2 separate regions of the Homo sapiens genome follow, and region 1 is linked to region 2. The links are contacts of gene promoters, found by promoter capture Hi-C in blood cells and fetal thymus (Javierre and others, 2016). All regions are on one chromosome and are shown on one strand. Each heading gives the region's core, a stretch centred on a gene start or on the middle of the fragment in contact. The rest is flanking DNA. Distances are from core to core; before and after follow the strand shown.

Region 1 (3,249 bases), core at 726-3,225, 2.1 Mb after region 2:
TCAGTTCCTGCATTACACTGACATTACTACACAGGATTATCTTAAAACTGACACTGATCTCTATAGTTATTCACCATTAAACCTAGAATGATATTTTAGGCACACATATACCTAGGACTACCTTCATGTCTCGTGGACTGTTTTTCAGAGGGTAGTAGCTGCTTTAATTACTTCTTTTCATAATTTTTGGCCTTATTTCCTTTCACTTTTTTCTAAACCTGTTTATTTTTCTCATTACTTAAATAGAAAACAGAAAAGGGAAATTAGTCTAGAGAAAAGTTCGCAATGATCCAACCAGGTAACATTATTTTCCAAGCTACATATATTTTACTAACGTCTCATAACTTGCTAAAATTATTGCTCGACTTTGTCCACGACTTTTGATTAAGTTATAAGCTTCTAGAGAAACTATTCTAAATTCTTTGTACTTTACTTCTTACCTAACCCAGTACAAGTATGCGATAAACTTTCAGGAAACGAATTCACCAAAGCACTTCACTTCTGGCATGAATATGTACCCTGGGAACACCACAGGCCTTTTGGTTCCTCTTTGGTGGAATGCAGCTGCGACGCTCTATATGTGGCTATGCAAAGTTAGCTAATATCCTACTCCTCCCAGTTTCTTCACCACCAAGTCTACTAATTTTCCAAAAACACAAGGTTAGCCCGAAGTTACTTCAGGTTTTCCATCTGTCAAGACGACGTAGAATAAAAATCCTCAGATTACCAACAGATCTCTGTAAACAGAAAAAGTTTAAAAATAAATGAGCTGTACAGCTTCCCAGACTCTCCCTTGAAAGGGAGATTAGTTGGTATCAGGATTAAACAGATCTTTGTAGTATTTCAATTTCCCACTCCCGCTGATCCGGACACTCATTTGTCCCATCTACCTGCAGAGAAGGTACAGGAAAGGGGTTGCAAGGGCACGCCCACCCTCCCGACTGCAAGCGGAGGGAAGGCCGCAGCCCGAAGCTGGCGGAGCTGGGCCGGCCCGGGCGACCCCCGGGTGGGCTCACCCGGCAGCCGCAGTGGGGCCCGCGAGCGCCCCCGCCGGCCCAGCTGATGGAGGCCACGTGACGCCAGCCGGCCAATCGGGAGGGACCGGGGCGGCAGAGCGCGGCGGCGGCGGTGGCGGCGGGGCCTCCCTCGGCACAACAAACACGAGCAGGAAACAGCTGAGCGGGTGGCCGGGGGGCTCTCTTGGTCCCGACACCCGGCGGGCTGCCCAACCGTCACCCTGCGCTGTCAGTCCCGGGTCCTCTGGGCAGGAGGGCGGGGGAGGCGGACGTTCATGGGGGGGAGGGGGCAAAGGGAGACACCGCCCCAGCCCGGTGGCTGGGCCGCTTGGGCCGGGCGTGGGCCCTGCTCAGGACGGTTCACGCCGTGCGGTCATCGCGGCCCAAACAACTCGGTCAAGTTCCGACTTGGATTCGGGGCGGAGACCGGGCGCGCCCCCGACTATGCGACGGGTGGGGGCGGGGCAGCCGCGGCGCGGCGCGGCGGGTTGGGGGTCGCGGCCAGACCGTCCGCCCAGGGGGCGCCGTGGGCCTCGGCGGCGGGCCTCGGAGGACGCGACGGGGAAACGGGGCGGAGGCGCGGGCGCCGCGCGGAGGGGTTGCGGCTGTTGTCGCACCGGTCGCCCGGCTGCGCGGCGGGGGCGGGCCGACGGCGGCCGCCGCGCCAGGCCTCACAAAGAGCAAACAGCCCCGCGCGTCCGCCCGCGGTCCCAGCGCCGGGGCCCACCCTGAAGGATCTGGGGCGGCCGCTCTGGGACCCCGGGAAGAGCGCGGCGAGGAAGAGGCACTTCCTGCCTGGGCCCCCCACCCTGGGCCGATTCCCGAGTGCCTCGAAGCCGCCCGACCCGAACGGGCGCCTCAGTCCCCACCGGCCCCGAGTCCAGCCCCTCCCGCGGGACTCACCCTGAGCGGCGGTGAGATCCGCGGCTGCCAGCGGCTTGTCGCTCTTCAGCTGGTATGAAGCCCCTCGGCCACCCGAGTCTCCAGGTTTAGTCAGGCCCTGGCCTTGGCCCCGCCTCTCCCTGGTTGGGCCTCAACGTCAGTCACCCGGCGTGGCTCCGCCCCCCCGCAGTCAGCTCTCCCGGTTGGCCCAGAACGCCCTTTATTTCTAGGCCCCGCCCCTGTCCTCGGCCTCCTGCCTTTTTCGCGGGGCCCCGCCCCTTCTCTGGCTCACCCTCCCCCACTCCCGCACCCCTCCGCTTCGCGGCCCACCCCTCTCAGAAGCCGCAGACCCAGGGCAGGCTTGCGACAGCTCGCCCCGCCCCTGACCCAGCACCTCGGACTCGTACAGCCAATCAAAGAGGCTAACTCTGCCCCTTCTCTCGAGGCGGCCAATGTAGTCAGTCTGGGGACCCACCTCCCCCTTTCAGCTGAGCGCACACAACACAGCATCCACGTGAGTCAGCTTCTTAAAGGCGAAGGCTTGGCCTGTCTAATTGCGGCAGCTGCGAGACATCGCACGTCATTAGCGTCACCAGGTAGCGGCTGGAGCCGAGCTTCCTGATACCTAGTGAGCCGCGGTGATGACAAATGAAAACAATAAGCTGTTTCCTAGACAAACAGCTGCCTAGGTAACTAAAGTGCACCGTGTAATTCGTTTCTTGGAGGCCGTTTCCCCGACCACCCCTGGTAGAGGGCTGCCTTTTGCTTTCAAACCCCTAGCCCTCGAGTCTAAGCGCATAGGCACTCCTAAGAAACATCTGTGGATACAGGATTTTTCAACTGCGCTTGACTTTATTTACAACTCATTTGAATGTTTTTTCTGGGTAGTGGAAATGATTCTCAAAAAGATGAAGAAATTCAGTCTTCTATATGGCGAATTTCTGCCTCAGAGAGTGAGATTTGTTCATTGCAAAGAGCAGCTGTTCCCTTAACCCTTATCAATGCTTAAGATGGAAGATGTTGCTTCTCATTCCATTAGAGTTGCCCAGGTACTTACATCTCTGTTAGCTGACTTTCGGGATAAAACCAAAATATTTGATGACGCATACCTCTCAGATTAAAAATGTAGGTTAGCATTTGGGGCTAGTTTGCAACATGTTTAAAGTCATTATTGGTGGAAGAGAAGCTGCTAAGCAAATTCTAGCACTTGACTCCCGCTCATCCCCAAATCCACAAGTATTTTCATTTAGTTCGTCTGAAGTTTACCTGAGCATCAAAGGCAAAAGGACTAGTTATCTTTTAATAAGTGAGTTTTCCAGGAGATAAGTTTTTTTGTTTGTTTGTTTCAGAC
Region 2 (3,147 bases), core at 554-3,053:
CCGGGCGCGGTGGCTCACGCCTGTAATCCCAGCACTTTGGGAGGCCGAGGCGGACGGATCACGAGGTCAGGAGATCGAGACCATCCTGGCTAACACTATGAAACCCCGTCTCTACTAAAAAAAAATACAAAAAAAAAAAAAATTAGCCGGGCGTGGTGGCGGGCGCCTGTAGTCCCAGCTACACGGGAGGCTGAGGCCAGAGAATGGCGTGAACCCGGGAGGCAGAGCTCGCAGTGAGCCGAGATGGCATCACTGCACTCCAGCCTGGGCGACAGAGCGAGACTCAGTCTCAAAAAAAAAAAAAAAAAAAAAGGAAAATCTAGGTTCTTTCTCAGACTGAAATTTCTGTAAACATAATTTATGATTTCATAGCAGCCAGTAAGTCTGGTCACTGGAAAATAACTGGTGCACGAAGTGTAATAAAAATTTGAAAATGGCCGGGGCGCGGTGGCTCACGCCGGTAATCCCAGCACTTTGGGAGGCCGAGGCGGGCGGATCACGAGGTCAGGAGATCGAGAGACCATCATGGCTAACACGGTGAAACCTCATCTCTACTAAAAATACAAAAAAAATTAGTCGGGGGTGGTGGCGGGTGCCTGTAGCCCCAGCTACTCGGGAGGCTGAGGCAGGAGAATGGCGTGAACCCGGGAGGCGGAGCTTGCAGTGAGCCGAGATCGCGCCACTGCACTCCAGCCTGGGCGACAGAGCTCAAGAAAAAAAAAAAAATTGAAAATGACTAGCAGAATAATATCCAGGTTATGAGTTGGATAGGGAACTGAGAATAGGAGGGAAACATTCTCCTGTGCTGTAGGAAAATATCTCCAGCACAATCGCTTCCTCAGAATAATACAAGGAAATCTGTAGAGGCTACTGGAAACACATTGTTGGTTTACACTAAACTTCCAATATACCTGCGTCAATTTCTCTGAATACTGAGGTGAAACATTACAAAATGCGAGGAAAACGGGGACTCGGGCAAGACATCAAATTCAATAAAAACCATTTAGTTTGTATTTGCAGTGCCGAATCTGATCCCAGACCCCCCCCAAAAAATTATCTGTTGATACATAACAGAAGAAAACAGCCCTCCTTCCTTTTTCTCATTCTTTGAGATCTCCCTTGGCCAATCTGTCCTTTTTCTGAGTAAGGGCGAGTAATTCCAGAACTAAAAGCTTAGGATTTTGTGGGTCCAATTGAAGAGACTAAGCCACCCAGAAAAACCAGCCACCAGACGGTATGGGGAAAACCAAGGGCTGACCGAGTAACTTGATGCTTTAAAAAGCAGCTCCCTACACCCCTCCCTCCGTCCTTCGGGGCCTCTCGGAAGGCCCGGCAGGCGTGGTGGGCTGCAGTCACCAGTCAGCTTCCTGCCTGTCCCCACCCGGCCACGACCACCTCGGCACCAGAAAGACCCTACGGCGTCGGGCCCTGGCTTCCTCCGGGTGATAGCCCTTCCAGGGGCTCAGCCTCACCTTCCGCGTCTGCTGAGGAGACAAAGGTGAAGTCCCCGTTAGTGGGGGCATAGGCCGGGGGCGGGCCCGGAGGCTGCATCTCGCGGCGACTCCCAACCGGCCGCGGTAGAAGAGGCTGCGGCTGGGCCCAGACCCCGAGGCGGCCGCGGCGGCGACCCGCACGCTCGCCCTACGGTGCGGCCTACGAGTCTCGACGTGCAAGCTGCGAGCGAGGCCAGAAACGGGCACAGCGGGCCGCTGAGCTGCCCCGAGACTACCCCACCAAAGTCTTCTTGGTGGCGACCACCCAAGCACCACGACGCCGGCACCCTGACAGGACCATAACAGTGACAGCGGCGCTGGGATTGGCTCTTTGTAATGTGCTCTCCCATTGGCTCCCGGAGGAAGATTCTGATTGGGTCTTCCTGTTGTTGATTCCGGAAGTTTACCCAGGACAGGAAGTTCACTTGTAATTCGTGGAAATCTCAGGCCTCTTTTTCCTCCTTGGGTGCTTTTGTTCCTTTAAGTGCGATCTTTCCTGGCGTTTTGTTTACCTATTACCTCCGTTTTTGTTAAGTGGGTGGGTTAAAGAATTTTAGAACTAGGTAGATTTTATGGGTCAGCCGCCGTACAGGATCTCAAGATTCCCTTGCCATTAGCCATTAATTAATAGTGTAGGATCTTGACTAAGTTATATGTAATGTCTGGATGGCAGTTTCCTCACCTGTAAGATGAAGAGGGATGGATCGGAGAATGAAGATAAAAGGCAGAGAAGCCGTAAATCGCCACCCAGAGACTAGGGCTGTAGATACATTCCTTTATGAGGGAGAAAACTGAGGCCAGAGAAAGTAAGGTAGAAACAGATTTAGGACAGTACCTAAATCTCCTAATTTCTAGTCAAGTGCTCTTTTCACTGGAAGGCCCTGTCTACTGATAAGCTTGCCGAAGTTAACAAACTCACCTGCTTTTAAATGTTTACATACGTAACTTTAATATTCAAGCTACATAAATGTGGCTTCCAACTTGAAGAAAGAGGGGTTGGGGTATATTAGGAGGCCAACTTGGAGAAATACACAATTGATCAGCAATAGAGCAATCGAGAGACATGTCTATTAGTGTGTTAAATGGTATTTCTGGAAAATTTTCTCACAGGAGGTAACATGTTGGTACTTAAAGGATGAGTAAATGTAGTGGTTTTGTTTGTTTTAGAGACAAGGTCGCTCCGTTACCCAGGCTGGAGTGCAGTGGTGCAGTAATAGCTCCTTGTAACCTCACACTCCTGGGCTCAGGCAGTCCTCCCAACTCAGCTATCTAAGTAGCTGGGACTACAAGCCCCCTGCCACCATGTTTGGCTAATATTTATTTATTTATTTATTTATTTTTGAGACGGAGTCTCATTCTGTCGACAGGATGGAGTGCAGTGGCGCGATCTCGGCTCACTGCAACCTCCGCCTCCAGGGTTCAAGCGATTCTCCTGCCTCAGCCTCCCGAGTAGCTGGGACTACAGGTGCCTGCCACCACGCCTGGGTAATTTTTTGTATTTTTAGCAGAGACGGGGTTTCACCATGTTAGTCAGGATGGTCTCGATCTCCTGACCTTGTGGTCTGCCTGCCTTGGCCTCCCAAAATGCTGAGATTACCGGCGTGAGCCACTGCACCCAGCCCGAATATAACCATTTTTTAAAACATGCCAATTT

What was found. The method cuts DNA at HindIII sites, captures the fragments that hold promoters and counts their contacts. A CHiCAGO score of 5 or more calls a contact.
Region 1: the fragment with the promoter of YPEL5 here is called in contact with the fragment with the promoter of YIPF4 in region 2 in 6 of 17 cell types (total B cells, non-activated CD4 T cells, total CD4 T cells and 3 more); the score reaches 13.6 in total B cells.

Annotation. Positions count from the first base shown.
Region 1 is chr2:30,145,733-30,148,981 of GRCh38, reverse strand. YPEL5 (yippee like 5) reads right to left here and starts at 1,975. Exons shown (of 3, transcript NM_016061.3): 1 at 1,920-1,975. RefSeq lists silencers at 862-1,301, 1,592-1,761, 1,792-2,371. The HindIII fragment of the contact is 10,963 bases long and covers 399-3,249 here.
Region 2 is chr2:32,276,560-32,279,706 of GRCh38, reverse strand. YIPF4 (Yip1 domain family member 4) reads right to left here and starts at 1,803. Exons shown (of 6, transcript NM_032312.4): 1 at 1,473-1,803. The coding sequence starts at 1,551. RefSeq lists a silencer at 1,596-1,705 and an enhancer at 1,943-2,688. The HindIII fragment of the contact is 1,217 bases long and covers 1,175-2,391 here.